3 separate regions of the Homo sapiens genome follow, and all the other regions are linked to region 2. The links are contacts of gene promoters, found by promoter capture Hi-C in blood cells and fetal thymus (Javierre and others, 2016). All regions are on one chromosome and are shown on one strand. Each heading gives the region's core, a stretch centred on a gene start or on the middle of the fragment in contact. The rest is flanking DNA. Distances are from core to core; before and after follow the strand shown. Region 1 overlaps ARHGAP17 (Rho GTPase activating protein 17). Region 2 holds the start of IL21R (interleukin 21 receptor). Region 3 has its middle 10 kb from the start of LINC02175.

Region 1 (3,289 bases), core at 550-3,049, 2.4 Mb after region 2:
AGGTATTTTTTTTTGTTTTTTAAATTGAGAATAGTGCCTATTTACTAAACTATGCAACTGATCATTTTTGTTATTTTAGGTACATAATATTATCAGTGTTGTGCTTCTATTTCTGCTTTTGCTATTTAGTTCAATGATTTCTTTTTCATCCCTTATTTAATTGGTTAGACTCCAAAATAGTGTGTAGCTGTATAAATGTTTATAGGAATATTGTGTAAAGGGCATATGATTCTACCTTTATTGGACATTTCAGGAACATGATAAGGACTATTTAAATCCTGCTAAAATACAAGTGTTGTAATATGAATTGTTCCCAATGGAAGTTTGCAAGCAACGTTCTCCTCATTTTCGAACCACACAACTTTTAGTGTGTCTGCTATTTGAGCTTTATTCTGTGTCTGTTTTGTGTCATGAGGTTGGCAGGTGATCTTAAATGCAGAATGCTGAATTTGTAGTAGTCCAACTATATGGAGAAAACAATTGCAATGCACTTTAGATTTAGGAACAAATTGGAGGAGAAAGTTGAGAAATGGTAAGAGGAGTTTTAATGGAGCGTATGTGGCAGTATGCTAATGTCACTTCTAAAGAAGAGGTGGTTAGCAGGTCACAAGGCAGTAGACTGAATTGTAGCCTCTGAATCTCAGGGCAGTCTTTAGGAATGGAAACCTTGCTGCCTGTAGATTTAGGTAGAGGTTTTAATAACCCCCCCGTTGCCAGAAAAAATCATCCACACACAGATTTGCCTATAATCTTATGGACTTCACAGACATCCTCAAGCGCATGGACAAAAACCCCAAGATTCAAGAAAAGCCGTCCACATGGTCGGCAGCTCAAGAAAGCCTGCCAGTTGTCCAAGCAATGCTTAGTTACAGTTCCCATGCTGGGAGCTGCTCTCTAGAGAAATGTTATTTGCAGATGTGCACCTCGTGCGTCTGTGTGTGTTGTTCTGCCTGTGTCCAAAATACATGCTTTTTCTAGATGGGAGCCTTTCCCCCACAAAGCAGAAATGTGTTCTGTCATGGGATTTGATGATCATCAAATTACTTTCCCTCAAGAATTGGCTTTCTTGGCGATTAGTTAATTCAGTTTTCAAAACTTTTAGATAAGGGCTTAATCAACGTAAAACTGCTTTGGGGCAGTTGCATTGTAGTAAAAAGTGTATTGGACTTGAGTCTGAGGGCTTGAGATCCTGTCTGTACTGTTTACTCGCTGTGTCTGTGACCTTGGTCCAATCAGCCACTCTGCTGTGTTCCTATACGTGAGAAACGGCTCCTGATACCACCAGGAGCAAGCTCTGCTGTGTTTAAGAAGGTGGTGTGTGCTAGGGAGGCGTCATGAGACAGTGAGGACATACAGTGTGACACAGCAGGTCAGCACTGGGGAAAATAGCCAGGTTAGCCTTCACTTCACTGCTCTATGCCAAAATACATTCCAAATGGGTTAAAGCTTTCATGTAAAAAATAAAACCACAAAATAAATACAAGAAAATATAGCTTATTGTGGAAAGTACTGCATGCTTTGGCATAAAAATGTGGAGAAAGAACAATAAAAGATAGCCTGTAGGTGGGACATGCGACTCCCACCTGTATCCCAGTTGTTAGGGAGGCGAGGCAGGAGGGTCATTTGAGGCCAGGAGTTTGAGCCCAGCCTGATTAACATAGTGAGGCCCGTGTCTGTAAAAGGAATTTTGGAAAAATTAGCTGGGTGAGGTGGCACACCCCTGTAGTCCCAGCTATTTCAGGAGGCTGAGATAGAAGAATCCTTAGAGCCCAGGAGCCGGAGCTGCAGTGAGTCATGATTGTGCCCCTGCAGTCCAGCCTGGGTGACAGAGTGAAACCCCATCTCTAAAAAATAAATAAATAAATAAATAAATAAATAAAACACCTGTAGATTTAACCACATAATAACTACACTTCTGTCTGTTTTATTATATCAAAGTTAAATTTAAAACGATGACTAATTGGAAAAAACTGAGAGCAACCACTACAGAGGTGAATATACTGAATGTATAAAGCTCTCTAGTAATTTTAAGAACTCCGCTCTAATGAGCAGATATCACAGACAGAAACTTCTCAGATGAAATACCGATGACCAGGAAATCTGTGAGACCACTTTAAAAAATTCGAAGTCATTGAAGAAATGCAAAGCTTCCAGGCTCCACTTTTCACTGATGAAATTGGCAGAGTTTGGGACAATGAGATGTTGCTGTCCCGGGAGTGTGGATGGGGCTGTGTCCTGTGATGGCGGTGGGCACTGGCACTCTTGTCCAGAAAGACATTCGCCACTGTGGTTCAAGAAGCACCTCAAAGGTCTTCACCTTGGTCCCTTGTCCACCTCTGCCCGCGGTCTCTCCTCCTTTCAGCCTCCTCTTTCCCACACAGTCCCTCCCGCCCTGGCTTGGTCCCCTTTCTTCTCTGATGGGGTCAGGCATGTGGGTGACTGACTTCCAAGGCTCTGTCTACCTGGCCTTTTTCTTTCACCTGTTCTGCGGAATAATAGCCTGATTCATTCCTCTTTTTGGGTCCTTCACTTCCATACCTGGGATTCGGGGCGTGGCCCAGAAAGACCCTGCAGTCGTGCAGTGTGGGGCTGCCAGCATTTCATGGCCTCCAAGCTCAGCTGGGCTGAATGAATGCTGCCGTCCAGCGCTTGGCTTAGTTTTCTGTCCCGTTTTCCTGAGTGCTTTTGCCAGACTTTCACTTTTCTGAAACCTACTTCACCCTACCCCAGACACCCACCCTCTCTCCTTGGATGACCTGCCTCCTAATTTCCTAAGAAAACTGGACATGGCCACCTTTCCCCAGTGTCTGAGGCCCAGGTTGACCCGTGGTCATGGTTGCCGTCACCACCCACCTGCCTGGACCCCACCCTCTGTCCAAGGCCCCGCCACCTGTGCCGCTGTCCTGGGCGCTGCCTTGCCAGCCTCCCCTCTGTGCCATGCACCTTTCACCTCCCTCCATCTGCTGCCTGTTTCTTCTTGGCTGCTCCTCATGGTCAGGCTTTTCTCAGCCCTCCCCTTCCTTCTGGGGCTTTGCGTCTTCCTCTGTCATCCACGCTCTGCGTCTTGGCTTCCCAGGACCCTCTCCTCCCACTTTCCTGTCCCTGACGTCCCTGTGCCCGGGGCCCAGTTTGCATCATCAGCCAGTCCCTCATCCATGCTTCACCCGCACCTCGCTCCTGGCTTCTTCCCTGCCCTCCCTGGGGACTCCTATCCTGTCCCCTGCCCTGGTTCTCCTTCCGCTGTGTCCCAGGGCCTCCATCCTCAGCCTCCGTCTTCTCTGCAGGGTCT
Region 2 (3,367 bases), core at 1-2,500:
CCTCCTGGCTTTGAATGTCCCGCACCTGGTCTTCTGCCTTCACTGAGCAGAGACGTCATTCCTGCGGCAAGTCCTAAGTTCCCGCTCCCCAGGGCTCCTCCACCAGGAATGTTCTTCCTTTCCCATCCTTCAAGGCTCAGCCTCCACTGACCTCCCCACCCTCCTCTCCTCCACATGCACAGGGAACTGGGTTGGCCTCTTACCATCCGACCCGTTCCCCGTGCTTCATGAGAAAGATGCAGCGACAGCTCATGGGGTCACCTGGCTTGACTGCCCGACCTGCTACGTCCCAGTTGAGTCACCGAGGGAAAATCACTCTACCTCTCGCAGCCTCATTGCCTCATCTGCGAAATGGGCACACCAGCCATTGTTTTGAATGACTGGGTGGAATCAAGGTGGTAAGACATAGAAACTGACACAGAATGGGTCCCATCAGGCTCTACACCCATGCCCGTCACCTCCCGACTCAGCCGCCCAGAATCGGGTGATTGACATGTTATGTTTGGCTTGAAACTGGCTTTCCTTCCCCAGCCCGCTACATTTTGGAGGCTGGTTTTCAAGATAGAGGGTCGTCTCAGCCACATCCCTGCTGCTGGGCCCCTAAGCTGTGCTGAACAAGAGACCCCAACCTCATTTCTGCCCAGCCTCACTGCATGAATCTTCTTTGCCTCAGTGTCCCCAATTGTGACTTGGGCACAGTCCTCCGAGCCCTCCCACTGTGACACTAGATGCAGCAGGCAGGGAACAGTCCCTCCTGGGCAGAGAAGGCACCCTGGTCCCAGCAGAAAACCAGGGCTGGAATTACCTTCTGTTTCGGCTTCTTTCTCAGAAATCCATTCCGTGTGCTGGGGGCAGTCTGATGGGCTTCTGGGGGTGGCAGCTGGGTTCAGCGTGGGGGTGACAGATGAGGGTCTGAGAAAGCAGGCAGAGGCCTGGGGTGAGAATCCACACCCAGCCCGAGTCACCAATCAGGCTGTCATAAGACCTGTCACTCTGATGACGGGCAGCTGGGCCTCCAGGCAGGTGTCCCACAGAGCAGCAGACAGAGGAAAGAGACGGCAAGGAAGGTACCAGGCGGCCGCAGCAGGGATGCACGGGCCGCAGACAGACAGACACAGCTGCGTGGCTGTCAGCCACACTCAGGGAGAGGCAGGCAGAGGGCCAGACGCCGAGCTTACGGTCACTCAGCAGAGAGACGCCAGTGGGTCTGTCTGAGGCCGCTGGCTGCCACCCAGCCGCATGTGCAGAGTGGGGAGGAAGAGGAGGATGTGGTGAGCCGCTCCCCGCCAGCCCCGCCCACCCGCAGCTGGGCTCCTCCTGGGAGGGAGTGAGAAAGAGGTGGGAGGGGGCCTGGCCCCACAGCAGGCACCCACTGTCACCAAAGGTCACCTGCAAGTAAGACATTTGGGGCCATCGGGGTGACACTTCCCTCTTAGGGACCTGTGACATCATCCCCACAGGCCTCTCAGTCATAACCCATGAGGCAGGCAGTGCCTCCTGGAGCCACCACATTGCACAGATATGGAAACTGAGGCCAGAGGTGTGAAGATGTGGCACAGTTTCACCCGTGGACCCAGAGTCCTCAGTGGCCGACTCCAGCCCCTCAGCACAGAGAGAAGGACCAGAACCTTGCCCAAGGTCCCACGGAAGCCCCTTTTTCAGACTTTGCAAACCAGCCTGTTTCTTATTCCTGAGCCTTACCTGCCTAATAGGGTCTGAGCTTGGGACCCTCTGCTCTGGCTTGACCCCCATGCCTCTCTGCCTCCATTTCCTTTGGATCCAGTCTCCTGCTGCAGAGCTCCAGGGAGCAGGACCCCTTGGGCACGTCACATCACCTCTCTGAATGCCTCACTTTGCCCATCTGTCAAATGGGGGCACCTAGCTATGAGGAAGAGGGCAGACATTAACACATGAGAATTCAAGAAGAAAATAGAGAAAAGAAATTCTCAAGAGAGTTTTCATCTTGCTAACATGCCAGAGGCCCATGAGAGGGTCAGATGTTTCTGGAAGACATTCAAGAAACCAGGAGACAAAATGTAACAAGCTTAATGCCTAGTGCAGTCTCCAAAGGAGAGCAAGAGAATTGCTACCACCACCACCGCTACCACCACCACCACTACCACTGCCATCACCACCACCTCGAATTACTTTGGTGCCTACATGATCTCACTTTATCCCACAAAGTGTGAGGCAGACAAGATTAGTCCCATTTTACAGATGGAGAGACTGAGGCCCAGAGGAGTGAAACGTCACACAAGCCAAGAAGAATTAGAGCTGGGATTTGAACCTGGGTGTGTTTGATTCCTAAGCTTATACCAGGCTGTGAAAACGGGGCCATACCAGGATGAAATGTCCCACAGTTGGGGGAGGCTATTTTATGCTGTTTTGATAACAAGATGCAATTTGTAGCTCTCCCTGCTGACTCATTTTTGGGAATCAACTTGCTGTTGACTTTCGTGACCACTCCAGAGAAAAAAGAGAAAGCGTCTTGCTATTCTTTCTTTCTTTTTTTTTCTAGCTGTTTTTGAGGAACTTGGTACAAATTCCCCTGTGGTTGATTTGAGGGATCCTGGCCCTGTAGAGCTCTTCCCAGCTACCGAAGTGTGTCGTGTTCTCTGGAGAACGAACCTTGGGAAGACACCAGCTTTTGTTTTTCTTTCTCTTGATCTTCGGGGTGAATTCTCTGATAACATGCACTGAAATTTGTAGTGGTTGAAAGATCAGGAGAAGAGACAGTAAAAAGAGCTAATATTTGCTGAAAGCTCATTGTGTGCCAGGGTTTTAAGGACTTTAAAGATGCACCCTCTCATTTAAACCTCAGAAATACTCGAGAAGGCTGTGTGCAGCGGTGCACACCTATAATTCCATCATTTTGGGAGGCTGAGGTGGGAGGATCGATTGAGGCTAGGAGTTCAAGACCAGTCTGGGCAACATAGCAAGACCCTGTCTCTATAAAAAAATTTAAAAATTAGACAGTCATGGTGGTGCACGCCTGTAGTCCCAGCTACTCTGGAGGCTGAGGTGGGAGGACCACTTGAGCCAAGGAGCTGAAGGCTGCAGTGAGCTATGACTGTAGTGCTGCACTCAAGCCTGGGCAACAGAGCAAGACTCTGTCTTCAAAAATAAAATCCCCAAAATGAAAAAGAATGAGTCTAGAAGATAGTTATCATCATCATCATCATCGTCCCTGTTTTACAGATGAGGAAACTGAGGCTCAGAGAGGTTAAGTGACTTGTCCAAGGTCACACAGCTGATGAGTGCCAGAGTTGGGATTTGAACTCAGTCATTTGGGCTCCAGAGCCCGCACTCTTAACTCACTACACTGCTCTGGGGTGTGTATGAAAACAAGGATATTCAATTTCTCCTC
Region 3 (3,012 bases), core at 64-2,563, 2.3 Mb after region 2:
GTAAGGGTCGTGCCAGCAGCCCAACCTTACTGCAAGCCTGGAAGGGAGAAAAAAAGAGGAAGGTGAGTAGAGATTGAGTAGGTTCGGGCCAGGGTCCGCTGCCAAGTTATCAGGAACCAGGTCAAGGAACTCGACAAAAACCAACCATCCACCTCGAAAGGCCAAGTGCACATTCAGTGCCCCGTTACACATGCGAAGACGCAGCCATCCATTCATCTTTATGTTCACGTACCGCCCATTACATTGCCCACAGTGGGCTTCTGACTCCCTTTCCTCATAGTGCTAGTTCACTTCTCAGGACCCTACATAGCAAATAACCTCACTTCATGCTTCATACAAAAGATGTGCAGCCATTTATTCACTCTGCAAACTCATGGCCAGAGCTAGTCAGTTAATTCCACTAAATGAAAAGACCTGTGCCCAGGGGAAGGGAGACTCAGAAACACTTGACAAACAGCATGAATTAACCCAAGTGTTTCTCCTGACTCTGTATTAGGTGCCGTCCTCTTACTCCCCTTACAGAGGTCAGAGTGGGGAAACCAGGAACGAATGAACAATACGTGTACAACTTGGGAAATGCCATGGGAGCCTTAATTGTCTCTATTCTGGTCTACAGTACAAGGAGTTAAGGCTTTGTGTTTCAAGGCTGGGAGCTGAAACCCTGATTAGCACAGGAAGCCTTGTTGCAATCATGAGTAGAACCAGCTTTAGGACGACTGAGGAGTCATGAAAAGAACCTGGATCCCGAAGGCCATGCTCAGCTGCTCTGGGCCTGTGGACTGCTCTATCTCTGAACGTATATTTTGTGAGATAATAAGTGTTTTTACCCTTTAAGCCAATTTGAGTCAGGCTTCTGTTAACAGCCTAAAGCATCCTAATGATACCCTGAGTAATACCCCCATTTCCTTGTTCCCTGCTAAGGTAAAATGTAGGGAATGTGTGTGTGATGTCTCTGAGCTCCTAGAAGCAGATAATATACCTTTTCTTTATATCTACTGCCAAGGCTTACTTCTGCCTTGACTACAATAGGTGCTGAATTCTGTACAAACACATCTCCCAATCTGTCATCCATAGACACCCAAAACACATGTTCAGGTGTTCCATGCAGCAATTCACAGAAACGTGAAATATTCACTAATGTGCACAATTTGCTATACAAGCCCAGACTGTCCAAGGAAAACATACTCAGTTTTATAACCATACACTTACTCAGTTATCTAAAATAGTGCTTTTCAAACAGTAAGTGGTGACTAATTAATATCATAAGATCAATTAGTTTGCAAACCTGCTTTTTTTTTTTTTTTTTTTAATGTGAGGCTGGGATGGTGGTTCATGCCTGGAATCTCAGCACTTTGGGAGGCCGGGGCAAGCGGATCACTTGAAGCCAGCAGTACAAGACCAGCCTGGCCAATATGGTGAAACTACTAAAAATACAAAAATTAGCTGGGCATGGTGGTCCGCGTCTGTAATCCCAGCTACTCAGGAGGCTGAGGCACAAGAATTGCTTGAACCCGGGAGGCGGAGGTTGCAGTGAGCCAAAATTGCACCACTGCACTCCAGCCTGGGCCACAGAATGAGACTCCAGCTCAAATAAAAAAGAAAGAAAGAAGAAATGGAATAGAATAAAATAAAAAATAAGATGCATTACACATAGTGTTAAGACATTTGTGAACCTTTTGTTTCTAATTCTAATTTTTAATTTTTTTGTAGACATGAAGTTTTGCTATAGCTGGTCTCGAACTGCTGACCTCAAGTGATTTCTCCCATCTTGGCCTCCCAAGATGCTGGGATTACAGGTGTGAGCCATTGCACTTAGACAACTTTTGTTTCAAGTGTGTGTTGAGGGTATAAGTGCAATGATAAAGGTTATTTTTTCACTGTGGGTGGCAGTTTCATAAACAGATTCCTTTTTTTTTTTTTTTTTTTTTTTTGAGGCAGAGTTTCGCTCTTGTTGCCCAGGCTGGAGTGCAATGGCACAATCTCGGCTCACTGCAACCTCCACCTCCCGGTTTCAAGCGATTCTCCTGCCTTAGCCTCCCAAGTAGCCGAGATTACAGGTATGAGCCACCAGGTCCCGCTAATTTTGTATTTTTAGTAGAGACGGGGGTTTCATCAGGTTGGCCAGGCTGGTCTCGAACCCCTGACCTCAGGTGATCCACCCGCCTCGGCCTCCCAAAGTGCTGGGATTACAGGGTTGAGCCACCGGCCTGGCCTTAAACAGATTTCAAATGAATCCTCTAGTGCCATCTAGTGTTAACAGTTTTATCTGCAGTTGAAACCCACAGATGAGAACACACCCCACAGTTCTAAGGGTTGGAAGAAGCCTAATCTTGCCAACCCCAGCATCCAGTGCAAGAACCATTGCAACAATATCACTACGTGACCACTCCCCTGAGGAAGGCACTCACCCCACTGCTAAGCAACTCTGTTGAAAAGCTGATCAAAATGCTTCCCTCTGGAAGCCCTAACTTGGTAGACTTACAAAACTACTCTCTTGCATAATAAAGAGCAGGTTCTTCTATTCTCTCACCTCCGGATTCCTTACACTATTCAATACGACTAGTGTAGTCAAGGAACATGTGGGTGTCTGCCAAGTGCTAGGCACTGGGGGTACAGTGGTAAACAAGGAGAGAAAGGAGAGGCAGATAATTACAAGATGATGAGGAATGAAGGCAGTGACTCGTAGAGAGGATGAAGATGATAGGGGGAGGCCTCTCTCAGAACGGGATGGCCGTGGCGAGCCCTGGAGAATGGGAGAGTCAGGTGTCCAAAAGGCATTCTAGACAGGAGGAAGGGCAGGCAGAAAGACTCAGGGAACACACCTGAGCCTCCAGTACAGAAAGGAGGCAGGGAGGCCGGAGGACAGTAAGAAACTGGAGAGGAGGCCAGAGGGAGAGGCAGGCTCAGGACGCAGCGCCTGGTGGGCATCTGGGACTGACCTCAGGAGCACCCTGTCCATGGTCACAGTGGTGCACAGTGGTAGAGAGTGGTGAGATGCACGGGTCCATAATG

What was found. The method cuts DNA at HindIII sites, captures the fragments that hold promoters and counts their contacts. A CHiCAGO score of 5 or more calls a contact.
Region 1: a fragment that was not itself captured here is called in contact with the fragment with the promoter of IL21R in region 2 in 1 of 17 cell types (M1 macrophages); the score reaches 8.1 in M1 macrophages.
Region 3: a contact is called between a fragment that was not itself captured here and the fragment with the promoter of IL21R in region 2, in 1 of 17 cell types (non-activated CD4 T cells). The highest score is 6.1, in non-activated CD4 T cells.

What each region holds. Positions count from the first base shown.
Region 1 is chr16:24,997,991-25,001,279 of GRCh38, reverse strand. The region is part of intron 1 of ARHGAP17 (Rho GTPase activating protein 17); the gene reads left to right. Among named protein-coding and RNA genes, the nearest start is that of ARHGAP17, 16 kb to the left of the region's middle. The HindIII fragment of the contact is 701 bases long and covers 1,449-2,149 here.
Region 2 is chr16:27,400,057-27,403,423 of GRCh38, reverse strand. It overlaps IL21R (interleukin 21 receptor), which reads right to left and starts at 1,250. Exons shown (of 9, transcript NM_181078.3): 1 at 806-1,250. RefSeq lists enhancers at 619-738, 631-1,173. The HindIII fragment of the contact is 2,346 bases long and covers 1-2,046 here.
Region 3 is chr16:25,055,041-25,058,052 of GRCh38, reverse strand. No RefSeq gene overlaps it. Among named protein-coding and RNA genes, the nearest start is that of LINC02175, 10 kb to the left of the region's middle. RefSeq lists a silencer at 2,211-2,340. The HindIII fragment of the contact is 8,824 bases long and covers 1-3,012 here.